Linked DNA regions of Homo sapiens: region 1 is linked to region 2. The links are contacts of gene promoters, found by promoter capture Hi-C in blood cells and fetal thymus (Javierre and others, 2016). All regions are on one chromosome and are shown on one strand. The core of a region is centred on a gene start or on the middle of the fragment in contact, and the rest is flanking DNA. Distances in the headings are between cores, read along the strand shown.

Region 1 (6,722 bases), core at 2,014-4,513, 310 kb after region 2:
TATTATTGTTATTATTTATCCTTAGAATTGGGCAAATATTGGAGTTATACAATCATATTATTTCAAGGAAATCTCCCCAAAGAAAATAATAACCTTCATCAATATGTAAATCCATTCTACTTGGCCTTTGTGAAATCTAAATATTGACTCCCTCCTTCTTCAACGTTTTTGTCCACATCAGTCATCTTTAAAAATGCAACTGCCTAATTTCTAGAAAGTCAGTATCACAGCTCAAGTCATTACGGCAGAAGGAAGGGTAGTCTCAGTCCTGTTTTTAGGATAATTAGGACATCATCCACGGGGCAGGCTTGAGTCTTTTGGTTCGGGAATTTTCTGCCCTGAGAAAAGACATCATTGAGATACAGGTAGAGTGTTCCTTATCCAAAATGCTTAGGACCAGAAGTGTTTCAGATTTTAGATTTTGGAATATTTGCATATACATAATGAGATAGCTTGGGGATGGGACCCAAGTCTAAACATGAGATTCATTATGTTTCATATACACCTTCTACACATAGCCTGAAGGTAATTTTAAACAGCAGTTGTAATAATTTTGTGCATGAAACAAAGTTTTGACTGTGTTTTGACTGTGACTGGCCACATGAAATTAGGTGTGGAATTTTCCACTGTGGTGTCATGTTGACAAGCAAAACGTTTTGGATTTTAGATTGTTGGATTAGGGATGCTCAACCTGTGTAGATTTATCATTTTTAAAAATGCTTCCATCTTTGAAGGAACTTTCATGTAATCCTGTTCAGAAGAATGTAGAACGAAATTTAAGGCAGGTTCTTCCCATACCTTCATCTAAGGAAGCTTAGATGCTGAAATCCCCCAGAGGAGGTTGTAATGTGAGGGTGGAGATGAGGCTGCTGTTACAAAGGGGCCCAGTGACACAGTCTGATAAAGAAGATAGACTTTTAGGCTGGGCACGGTGGCTCACGCCTGTAATTCCAGCACTTTGGGAGGCTGAGGCAGGCGGACCACCTGAGGTCAGGAGTTCGATACCAGCCTGGCCAACATGGTGAAACCCCATGTCTACTAAAAATACAAAAATCAGCTGGGTGTGGTGGCACGAGCCTGTAATCCCAGCCACTCTGGAGGCTGAGACAGGAGAATTGCTTGAACCCGGGAGGCAGAGGTTGCAGTGAGCCGAGATCACGCCACTGCACTTCAGCCTGGGCAACAGAGTGAGACTCCATCTCAAAAAAAAAAAAAAAAGAGAAGATAGACTTTTCTCTCTCATGGAACAGTCCTCAGGCAGCAATTAGTCTAGGGCCGCAGGCTGCTCTGCTCCCCAGTCAGCCTGGTGCGGGTTCTGTCTGTTCTGTGGCTCTATCCTGTCCAGAGTGTGGTCCTCACACAGCAGAAGTTGTGACACGCAGTTCACAACTTTTCGGCCGGGAGAGGCTGGACATGCAGTTTTCTTTTTAAAGACATTGGCCCAGGGGCCAGGCACAATAGCTCATGTCTATAATCCCACTGCTTCTGTAGGCCAAGGGGTGAGAATTGCTTGAGTCCAGGAATTTGAGACCAGCCTGGGCAACACAGCAAGACCCTGTTTCTACAAACAAAACAAAACAAAACAAAAAACATTAGCTGGACATGGTGGTGTGCACCTGGATTTCCAGCTACTCAAGAGGCTGAGGTGGGAGGATTGCTAGAGCCCAGGAGCTCGAGGCTATAGTGAGATATGATTACACTACTGCATTTCAGCCTGGACAATAGAGCAAAACTCTGTCTCTAAAAGAGAAAAAAAAGACACTGCCCCAAATTTGCACTTACCCCTTGTGCTCACATCCCATGGGTGAGAACTGAGTCACAGGCCACACCTAGTTGTAGAGAAGGAAACGTGGCCTCTTGCTGTGTGACCATGTGCTCAGCAAAAATTCAGAGGGTTCTTTTGCTAGAAGAAATAAGGAAATGATGGATACAGATGGATACAGGATGTGGGGTGAGGGAATTAGGCTCTACCATGGTGATCTTGTGGAAATTCAAAGAGTAGAGGTGCATAGACACACAATGTTAAAGAAGCATTATAGTTTTTCTTTTTTATCTTTGTGTGTGTGCATGTGTGTAGAGATGGGCTCTCACTGTGTGGTCCAGGCTGGTCTCAAACTCCTGGGCTCAAGCGATCCTCCTGCCTTCGTCTCCCAAAGTGTTGGGATTACAATCATGAGCCACCACACCTGGCCTTTTGCTTTTTTATCTTAATAATTAAAATTGTGTGTGTGTGTGTGTGTGTGTATGTGTGTGTTTACAATGGGTACAGAAGGAACAGAGCCATGAATTATGTTTCACAATCTGTGTAGGAGATATCTTTTGACAGTTTTATCCAGTTTCCAACAGTTAAATATTTTTGTTTCCTCTAAGAAGACAGAGGTCAGTGTGACCCCCTCGCTCCATAAATGGACATTTCACTTACTGAGTTGAGGCCAGCTGAACCACTCCTGAGCCACAGGCAGGAATCTCTTTTGTTCTCTGGGCAGAGCTGAATTTACTATGAAGCTGAGGAAGCCTAAGCTTCAGTCCCCTCCCTTGCATGGGCCCCTTCATACTAGTGTGGCCCTAGCACTGTGTTCATGGGGTCCTTTAGCATTTTTCTTAAAGAGTGCTTCCCCAGTTTTTAGGCTTCCTGCTTCACAAAATCAGGCCTTGGCAACCTGTTTGATGCCTCCTTTCTTTGCTGAGCCTTGCTACTTTTTCCCAGATGGGGAGAGGCTCCTGGGTGTCATTTCCCTCATCAACATAGTTTCTTGGAAGAAACCACCCTAAAAGGAAGTATAGCGAAAGAGCATCCCAAAGAAAGAGATGTTAAAATTAATCCTTTTGCACCTCCCACATAAAGTATGCCTTTTATGCTCTGGCCCAATTTTTTGTGCCTTTGAGGATTCTCATTTGTATCAGTAGGGGTCCTTGGGTTTTTTTTTTTTTTTTCTTTTCTTTTTAGACAAGGTCTCGCTCTGTCACCCAATCTGGAATGCAATGCCACAATCACGGCTTACTTCAGCCTTGACCTTCTGGGCTCAAGCGATCCTCCTGGGCTCAAGATTAGCTGGGACTACAGGCGAACACCACCACGCCTGGCTACTTTTTAATTTTTTTATAGAGATGGGGTTTTGCTATGTTGCTCAGGCTGGTCTCAAAGTCCTGGGCTCAAGTTATCCTCCTGCCTCAGCCTCCAAAAGTGCTGGGATTATAGGAAGATGCCACTATGCCTGGCTGAAATGCTCTTTTTTTATGGTACTTTGGCTCAACTGGCAAATGCCTTCTTGAAATGAGCATTTCACACTTTGGTCACCACACAGTCACTTAGATGAAACCCACAGGCTGCCCAGTAACATGGGCTCCCACTGGGCATTTGGGGAAGGGCACACCCTGCCTGGAGTGGTGAGCACTGCTAGGCCTGCTCTCCGCCCTTTTCCACCCTCCGGGTGTCTTCAAAGCTGGCTGTTTTCTACACTAACTTCTGGCAGGTCTGGATTTTCCGTATAAGGGCTTTTTTGGCCAGTACTTCCTTATACTGAAGAATTTTATATTAGTTCCCTTTCAGATTCGAAAATCAATCTTTAGTCAACCTAAAACATTATTCCTGGAGTGGGGCTTGACTGTATGTGGGGAAGAGGAGAGGGAGAGACTGATGCAAATATGCACACACACATACTTTTTGCATACAATTTCAGGGAGGCCAGGACCTTCTGAAACCCTTCCTTGCTAAGCCTCTGCTGTAGAGGGTGAAATGCAGCCAAGTTAACTTGTTAACAACAACAAAAAGGCCGTAACAATACTTTCCTCCTGAGATTGTAGGAGTAAGTGGGGGAGATTAAATGAGACGATTCATGTAAAGTGTAGTGTCTAACACATAGTAAGCAGTTATAATTGTTCACTTTTCTTTTGGGGCTTAAATGATCTTACTTGTTTTCACGAGTTCCTTAGGTAATAACAATACTAACAGCCTTTGTTTTTCCATGGCCTGTTGTTTGCCTTTTAACTTGAAGGCACACAGTCAGAAGCTTCATTTTTTTAAATGTAACCAAATCTATCTTTATTTTGTGTCTGATTTCATTAATTACTTGTAAGTTGGATCCTCATCCTTCCTACAGAGCTCTGATAGATTCTGTTGCTTGTAGACTGTTTTCTCCCAATGGTTCGATTTTTATTATTTAGTCATCTAATCCATCTGGAATTTATCCTGGTATATGCTCTGAGGTAAGGGTTTAACTTGATCTTTTTTCCCATTGCCAGCCAACTATGCTCCAATCATAAATCTTCCTTCTCCTTACATATTGTAACATGTTCTTTATATTTTTGTTGTTTGTTCTTTTTTTTTGAGATAGAGTCTCGCTCTGTTGCCCAGGCTGGAGTGCAGTGGCACGATCTTGGCTCACTGCAACCTCCGCCTCCCGGGTTCAAGCCATCTTTTTTGGTATATAATAAATTCCTGTATCTTGTAAGATCTTTTCCTGGGCTTTCTGTTCTGTGTTACAGAACAAAGATCTGGCTATTTTTGCATAAATGTGTCTCAATGTCTTGTAGGACTAGTCTATTCTTCACTCTTCTTGTTGGTGTTGTTTTTTTTTGTTTTTTTTTTACAAAATCTAAAATATGTTCACCAGTTTATTTTTCCAGATAAACTTTTAAACATTATTGACGAATTCTAAGAAAAATCCCCTCGGAATTTTGATTGAAATCAAATTAGCCCTGTAAGTTAACTGGGTGGTATTGCCATCTTAGCAACAGTGTTTTACCAACTTGGAGTTTCAGGACCAAAATACAGTAATCAAAATTTTACTCCAAAGAGATAAAAGCTGGAGTTTACAGGATGCTGTGTATCATGTCACAGAGTTGGCTGCTTATTTTCCCATCTTTTTATTTCTTAGAAATACAGGAAGATTATTGGTCACAAACACATGAGTTACTGTAATGAAATTCCCCCAAATCCCTAGACTAAGGAATTAAGTTGGAGTTGGTGTCACAGTTATTTTTGAAAGCTTTTTGTGATTTTATTCTTTTCTTCTGGGTGGACCTTTTCTCCCCACATCCTCCTAGCAGTGAATCTGCTTTTGCCTTTCACTGCCCCTTCCAACCACCATCCCAATCTGTTACCTTGTAACTTCTTAGTGACAAGAAGACGTATGGTCTCCTGAAGATTCACAATATATTTATGAGGATAGTGAGTAGAATATTTTATATTAGGGTGATCTCAAAACATTTGGGCTATATGATTAATGTTCTACTAATCCATAAGGATGCATTGTTTAGGACATTTATTTTATTTTGGAGGTGGGGAAAAGAAGAAGGAATAAAATGGCTGTAGGAGAAGAAATATTCTTCTTTTTTTTTTTTTTTGAGGCGGAGACTTGTTCTGTCCCCCAGGCTGGAGTGCAGTGATGCAATCCTGGCTCACTGCAACTTCTGCCTCCTGGGTTCAAGCGATTCTCTTGTGTCAGCCGTCTGAGTAGCTAGGATGACAGGTGCGTGCCACATGCCCAGCTAATTTTTGTATCTTTAGTAGAGACGGGGTTTCGCCGTGTTGGCCAGGCTGGTCTCGAACTCCTGACCTCAGGTGATCCACCTGCCTCGGCCTCCCAAAGTGTTGGGATTACTGATGTGAGCCACTGCGCCTGGCCAGGAATATTATTCTACTTAAATGTCCTGAATTCCTTCAGCCTCTTTAATTCAAGTCTTAAATTCCACCCTCCCCACAAACAGGTAAGTGTAGTAAAGCAGATATCTCAAATTTGAAGTAATGTCCTTTACTAGAATCTTAAATTTATAAACAACATAGAGGAAGTTTCAGATGGTTTTCTTGTCTGAGCTCTAGGTATAAAACTCTCAGACTTGGAGTTGGACTTGGACAGCCCTCTTTTTTATTTTTTATTTTAATTTTATTTATTTATTTATTTTTTACATTCTTGTAAATCTTTATTTTTTTTATTTTTTATTATTTTTTTTTGCAGATTTCTTTTTTTTTCTTTTATTATTATACTTTAAGTTTTAGGGTACATGTGCACATTGTGCAGGTTAGTTACATATGTATACATGTGCCATGCTGGTGCGCTGCACCCACTAACTCGTCATCTAGCATTAGGTATATCTCCCAGTGCTATCCCTCACCCATCCCCCCACCCCACAACAGTCCCCAGAGTGTGATGTTCCCCTTCCTGTGTCCATGTGATCTCACTGTTCAATTCCCACCTATGAGTGAGAATATGCGGTGTTTGGTTTTTTGTTCTTGCGATAGTTTACTGAGAATGATGATTTCCAATTTCATCCATGTCCCTACAAAGGATATGAACTCATCATTTTTTATGGCTGCATAGTATTCCATGGTGTATATGTGCCACATTTTCTTAATCCAGTCTATCATTGTTGGACATTTGGGTTGGTTCCAAGTCTTTGCTATTGTGAATAGTGCCGCAATAAACATATGTGTGCATGTGTCTTTATAGCAGCATGATTTATAGTCCTTTAGGTATATACCCAGTAATGGGACGGCTGGGTCAAATGCCCTCTTTTTTAATGCCTAGTCTGCTCGAAAGGAATCTGAGTTCAACAGAAGGAAACAAAATGTGCTAAATCAGTAAGAGTAATCCTCCAAGATGATATTCCTGTTTAACAGGCTCTGTAAATACAATAGTGTTGTTTAGCAGGAAAGACCAAACATATCTATTGGAATAGAAGATATTTCTAAATTTAAAGATAGTTCACTGCTTTAAGTGGAG
Region 2 (6,623 bases), core at 399-2,898:
CCTCCGCAAACATGGGTCGTAGCCTCACTTTTCTCCCAACCCCAAACATAACGGTAGGGGAAGCGAGGTGCAGAGGGGTCTGGGCCAGAGAAGCATACGCATCGCTGCCGAGTGAACCACACCGGACAAAAACCCTCATCCCTTCCCCCACCTCTAGGAACCAGATTGGGACCGAACGGTCCTTCCGCCCCCATCCCACACCTCGGCTTAACGACCGTGGGTTGTCCTCCCGTTCCCCAAACTTCCGACCCTTTCAGAGACCGTCCAAGTCATAAGATCACCCCTTCTGGAAAGGGGAGTCGTTTTTCGCTCTCAGCTCAAGCAGATTCAGCCATTTGGTGACGACACCTCCTTAAAACCTATTCCAAGAGAAGCTAACCTAGCCCTCCACGTCCTCCGCAGTTCATCTCCCACCCCATCCGACCCCAACCCGCACCCCAGGCTTTCCCGGGGGTGGAAAAGGACTTAGGAATGCCCCGGATTTTTAGCGTTGAGCCCAAAGCTACCTGCTGAATTGGGGGTGAATCCCCAAAAGGGGACCAAAAAGACATGGAGTGGAATGCAACACACACACATAACACACACAACGCATCCCACCTCGCCGCCCACTCCCGCCCTCCTCCCCAGTCCAGGAAACCGCGGGCCTCGCCGCCTTCGCCCCGGGCCTGTCCCTCCCGGGACTCACTGAGGAGCCGCCGCCGCCTCGCCAGCTCCCGAGCGCGAGTTGGAGGAAAAGTTGGGCGGCGGGAAGAGCGGCGGGACGAGCGCAGGGAGGGGGCGCAGGAGACGCGGACGGAGGGAAGGGAGGGGAGACCCAAGGGGCGCGGATCGCCCGGGAGGGAGCCAGGAGGTGAAAGGGGCGGGCGGCGAGCGGAGGGAGGCGCCGGCCCCGGCTGGGCTGCGGCGGGCAAAGCGCGCAGCCGGGAGGCTCCGGCGCCGGGGGCCGCTCGGGACGCCAAGCCCGCCCCAGATCCGGGGGCGCCGCGGCTCTTACCTCGCTCGGCGTGGAGGTTCCGCCTCGGGAGAGTCCGCCGTGGCTTGTGCGAGCGGGCGTGTGCCCGCGTCCCCGGCTCCGGCCCGCCGCCCCCGGGCTCTGTTCGGGTCCTGGCGGGGTCGCAAGAGCTCCGCGGCCGGCGCTCGACTCCCGGCGGCGCTCGGTGCTCGGCGCCTCCAGCCCGGGCGGGAACAATGGAGCCGGAGCTGGTGCCCCGGAGGCGGGGCGGGGGGAGGGCTCCCGTCCGCCACCCGGGGTCTCCAGACCTTGTGCCCCCCTCCTCCAGAACGCAGCGGCGGCGCCTCACTTTCCTTGCAGACCGGGCTCCATCGCCCTGCGGAGGCCCCGGCGCCGCGGCGTGCCCGACTGCAGCACGGGTACCGTGCGCCCTGCGGGGCGCCCCGAGCTCGGACCGGAGAAAAGTCCTTGGGTTCCGCGGCTTTTCAAGCAGCGGCGCGCTCGCGGCCGGGGAAGGCGAGGTCGCCGCAATGCGCTACGAGGGGTCTCGGTCCCGTCCGGACGTGGCCGCCCAGCTCCCGGCACACCCGGGTTCCTCCGCGCGCTGCGGCTGCACCGGCGTCCCGGCTCCCGCTAGCTGCCGCCCGCCGCCGAGGACGCCGCGCCTGTGGCCGCAAGAGCGCTCCGAGCGCTATGCGCCGGCGGGGCGCGAGGGCTCGCTCTCTCACTCCCACCCGCGCTGGTCCCTCCTCCGCCTCCGCCCCCTGCAGCTGCCTGCTGGGCCTTGTAGTTCCCCAGCCGCGGCCCCAAAGGACGGGGAGCGGGCCGAGCTGTCCGGCGCTCTGCCCTTCTCTTCCTACAGCCTGGTCTCCTTTGGCGTTTGCGCCCCTGCATCTGAGCACGTCCCAGAGGGCGCCGGAATGTCAGGCCCTAGACATAGCAGCGGTTTGGGGGCTAGGGGGCAGGTGAAGAGACGCCGCAGCCTTGAGGTTGTACCTGGTAGCGTGGGCTTTGGAGTCTGTGCGCCTTGGGGAAATGATTTTCGCGCTCTAAATCTCTGTTTTCCCATCTGTAAATGGGGGATAATAGTGCTTTTCACATAGAGTTGAGGCGTCAACGAGGGCCTAGCGCATAGTTAACACTTAGTAAATACAAGCCGGTTTTATTATAAGGTCAGCCCCTCCTCAAACCCTTCCCTTGGATTTCAGCTTTCCCCAGCCACATAATTTAGGTTTTGTGGTCCACCGGGAACTGGACCCTGTAAATTCTACAGCGATGCTGTTGGCTTCCAGAAGTCTCCAGCCTGCAGTGAATGTCTAGGAAGCAAAGAGTAAGCAGTGGGAGTTGAGGGGAGACGTGTGGTTGGTTTGGAAATTAATCACAGCCCACTCAGAACACCCTCCAGTACTGTGGAACACAGGAAAGTGGCTAAAATGCTTCCCCCTGAGTCTTCCCGCGAAGTGGTATAATGTAGTGGTTCCCTAATCCAGATGGACACGGGTCCTAGGGAACGTCTGAAAAATACAAGTTCATGGGCCTGCTCAGACATGAGGAATCACGCTGTCCCAGGAAGGAGCCAAGAGCCTTTATTTTTTCCAAGGCTCCTTGGGGCGTGTGATGTGAGCCCAGGCTGAGGCCACCATTGGGGTGGGAAGTAGGCAGCACTTGGTCTGAAGGATTCCTCCATTCTGTCCATCATTTATGAAGTTTGATGTAGGACAAATCATGCATCTGATAAAATCAAAACGGGGTATCTGTTGATACTCCTTCACAAGATGGTCATAAGAATCAAATAAAATAATAGCTCTCAGTGGACCAAAAATATTACACAAATGGAAGTCACTATGAAAGGTAGTGGCAGGGCCTGTTCCCTTACCATCACCCACCTCAACCCCGAAACTTGTAGAAGTTTGAATACTGAATGAGATCCCCCCACCCAACTCCTCACCCAACCCACCCACGCCTCCCTGGCTAATTTAAGAAAAGAGTTGGCCGGGTGCGGTGGCTTATGCCTGTAATCCCAGCACTTTGGGAGGCCGAGGCGGGTGGATCACGAGGTCGGGAGATCGAGACTATCCTTGCCAACAAGGTGAAACCCCGTCTCTACTAAAATACAAAAAAATTAGCCAGGCATGGTGGCGCTTGCCTGTAATCCCAGCTACTGGGGAGGCTGCGGCAGAGGAATCGCTTGAACCCGGGAGGCGGAGGTTGCAGTGAGCCGAGATTGTGCCACTGCACTCCAGCCTGGCAACAGAGCAAGACTCCGTCTCAAAAAAAAAAAGAAAAGAAAAGAAAAAATGGTCCTCGCGCTATTTTTCTAATCCACCAGTAGGTGACAGACTAGTGGCCAACACAGTGTTATTCACATAGTAGACACTCATGAAATCCCTTGACTGGCCAAAGAGCAAATATTCAATAAGTATTTGTTGAACAAATGAGTAAATAAACAACTAAATTACAGCTCACGCCTGTAATCCCAGCACTTTGGGTGGCCGAAGCGGGAGGATCACTTGAAGCCAGAAGTTCAAGACCAGCCTGGGAAACAAAGTGAGCCCTTGTCTCTACAAAATATTTTTAAAAATTAGCTGGAGGTGGAGGCTGAAGAAGGAGGATGGCTTGAGCCCAGGAGTTTGAGGCTGCAGTGAGCTATGATCCAGCCACTACACTCCAGCCTGGGCGACAGAGTAAGACCCTGTCTCAAAACAAAATAATACAAAACAAAAAATGAGAAACAAGAACTCATATCTTTGTTGAATAAATGAACTTCAGCCACTGTTTATAGGGTTTTCCCCTAAGAGCCACCATTTAACCTTTCAGCTCCTGGTCAAGCTTGGTTTATACTCCTATGTAAGCTGCCCACCCATTAGGCCTCCTGCATTTTAATTACTACACATCACACGCTTGTAAGAAGGCCATACTCACACCCTACCCCCAAGAGGCCTTCCCTGCCCATCCCAGCTTTGTCAGTCCCTGGACCCCCTGCTCACTTGCTGACTATCCACTGAGTTGATACCGTGCTTTGTTAGTGGTTTTCCTTACTCTGCTTTCTTTCTAACTGGTTTCTAAACTGCTTTAGGGCAAGGATCTTATCTAGGTGTCTGACCAATTCTACACAGGAGGTTTTCCATGTATATTTATTGTTCATGGACTTGCTAAGCATAACCAACCTGGGTTACCAGAGGAGGAAACACAATTTGAGGGAATATGATTGGGAAGACAAGCCATGAAAAAAATCCAGCATTTAATGTTAACACCCAGCTACTATTTTTCTACTTTGCTCCGTAATTCTTCTCAAAAAAGGGTTTTTTTTGTTTTCTTTTTTTTTTTTTTTCCTGAGATGGAGTCTTGCTCTTTTTGCCCAGGCTGGAGTGCAATGGCACGATCTCAGCTCACTCAGCTCACCTCTGCCTTCTGGGCTCAAGCGATTCTCCTGCCTCAGCCTCCCGAGTAGCTGGGATTACAGACACCTGCCACCATGCCCAGCTAATTTTTGTATTTTTAGTAGAGACAGGGTTTCACCATGTTGGCCAGGCTGGTCTCGAACTCCTGACCTCAGGTAATCTGCCCACCTTGGCCTCCCAAAGTGCTGGGATTACAGGCGTGAGCCACCATTCCTGGCCCAAAACAAGGGGTTTTAAATCAAGCCCCTTTTTCTTATGATTTAGAACCATTGTAGGAGTATCTTGAACCCCAAATAAAAGGCTAAATAATGCGTTCTTGATTTAAACAGAAAGATAATGATCTAAATGCTTGTTTGGGGTTGAGGGACATGGGCCTGCTGCTGAAAAATCCTCTATAGATTTATCAAGAAGCCAAAATGAAAGCAAGTGGCCAACTTGCCAGGGTCCCTCCTCCACTTCTCAGGGAAAGAGCTGATGGCAGCTGAACAGAGAAGGTGAGAAACTCAGCAAAGGCATGGGCTGTCCACACACTGCAGACAGGTTTCTGAATAATTGAGAGTTGGCTGCTTTTATCCTTCCAGCCCACCTCGCTCCTTTTCTGTCCCACTCCTCTACTCGCCCTCTTTCTGAAATGTAGCCCTCCCATTTCTGGAAGGGCCCCAGGCCAGTGGAGGGAGAGTGTCCCTAGGGCAGCCCTGAGCTGCTCCAGGCAACAGGGGTCAGACAGCAGCTCTGCCTGTCTCTGTTCTGCCCGAGGCCTCCTGGCACCTTGCCTCCCATACAGAAATGTAACCTTCCCTCTGAGATAACAAAGAGCTGGGAGGGTCAGGGAGGATTTGTCGGCCCTTCGCCCTGCCAGCTACATGTCTAAGGGGAGACAAAGGCCCTCATGCTGGAGGGCCTGATAACTGGTTGGGGGCCTGTTGCCTCCCACATCTGTGGGAGGAGGAGACCACTGCTGAATGAAACGAAGGGAAACGGAGCTCTCCCCAAAGCCCGGCCAGCTCTCTTTGTTTGGGAACACTGTAGGAAATCCCTTCCCTGTTCCTCCAGCTACTTGTGTCCTCAGAGTTTTCCCTGGCAGACGGGAGCTCCTCTTCCCCTCTCCCCACATTCCTTCTGCCCCTGCTCTATCTGGGTTCTGTTATTTTAGGGCTCAGCTGTGCCTACCAGGAATGATCACCCCACTACCCTGGGTCGATACTGCAGAATTAACAATTCTTTGTTATGGAACAAGTCAGGTAAAGTAAGCACCATTGACATGGGGCAAGGTTGCAGAACTTCCAGCCCAGGCTTCAAGAGTCCCCAGGATGTGGTGAGAGCTGGCAGAGTCTCCACTCCGAGAGCTGGTTGCAGAAGGGGATTCGGGAGGAGGGAACTGTCTGGGGTTTTCCCTACAAAGTGGATGGTTCACAGGTCCTGGGAGCAGGTGGGCAGCCAAGCCTTTTGCCCCAGGCCCCTGGAGTTAGGGAGCAGCAGTCAGTCACCATCTGGCCACCATTTGGTGACCCCTGTCTGTTCCCAGAGCAGCTTCAGCATGTCAGGGAAGGGAGGGTCTTATTTGGCTTGGTGTTTTTGTAAATAACATTCACTCTCTTCTGCCAATTTGGAGTGAGAAAGGGAGCGAGCTGTGTGGCAGCTCAGCTCTGTCTGGCCTGAATGCCACATCTATTCACGGAGCCTGGGGGTGTCAGGGAGCACTTCTTGTGTGTCAGGCGCTGTGCCGGGCACAGTGGATCCGAAGATGAAAGAGATGAGTGCACAGCCTGGGGGACCTCACTTGTCTTGTGGGGGAGACCAAACATGACACGTAGTGCCACCCGGGGGCATCTGCAGGGGGCTGTGGAAGGAGAGATCAGGAAGGAAGATGACTCAGGGGAAGCGATGCCTGAATCTTGAAAGATGGCAATGTGAAAATCCACAAACTCATCTGGGATAGCTGAGGAAAGCAAGCCTGGAGAGTTTGTGTTGAGGGGTGGGGGTGGGGGGTAGACAGTTGGTAGTCACTGAAGCATCGAATTATTTTGCTCTGAAGGGATGAACTTAGTCTCTGGGGTCAAACAGTTTTGAGCATGGGTCCTGATTCTGCCACTTATTGCTAGCTGTGTGATCTTGGGCAAGCTAGTTAGCTCCACTGCATTTGCTCAATGGTGAAATGAAGATAACAATGGTAACTGTTCTTCCCAGGACTGTTGAAAGGATTAAATGAGAAAATGTGTGTAATGCACTTGGCAAAGCGCCCAGAACATTGTAAATGCTCAATAAATGGT

Evidence for each region. The method cuts DNA at HindIII sites, captures the fragments that hold promoters and counts their contacts. A CHiCAGO score of 5 or more calls a contact.
Region 1: a fragment that was not itself captured here is called in contact with the fragment with the promoter of FGFR1 in region 2 in 2 of 17 cell types (M1 macrophages and M0 macrophages); the score reaches 8.1 in M1 macrophages.

What each region holds. Positions count from the first base shown.
Region 1 is chr8:38,776,054-38,782,775 of GRCh38, forward strand. It overlaps a transcript of TACC1 not described here. Among named protein-coding and RNA genes, the nearest start is that of TACC1, 7.8 kb to the right of the region's middle. The HindIII fragment of the contact is 1,490 bases long and covers 2,519-4,008 here.
Region 2 is chr8:38,466,987-38,473,609 of GRCh38, forward strand. FGFR1 (fibroblast growth factor receptor 1) reads right to left here and starts at 1,649. Exons shown (of 18, transcript NM_023110.3): 1 at 995-1,649. RefSeq lists silencers at 932-1,051, 1,062-1,191, 1,462-1,531 and enhancers at 1,389-2,375, 1,812-1,981, 4,993-5,786, 5,787-6,580. The HindIII fragment of the contact is 10,295 bases long and covers 1-3,779 here.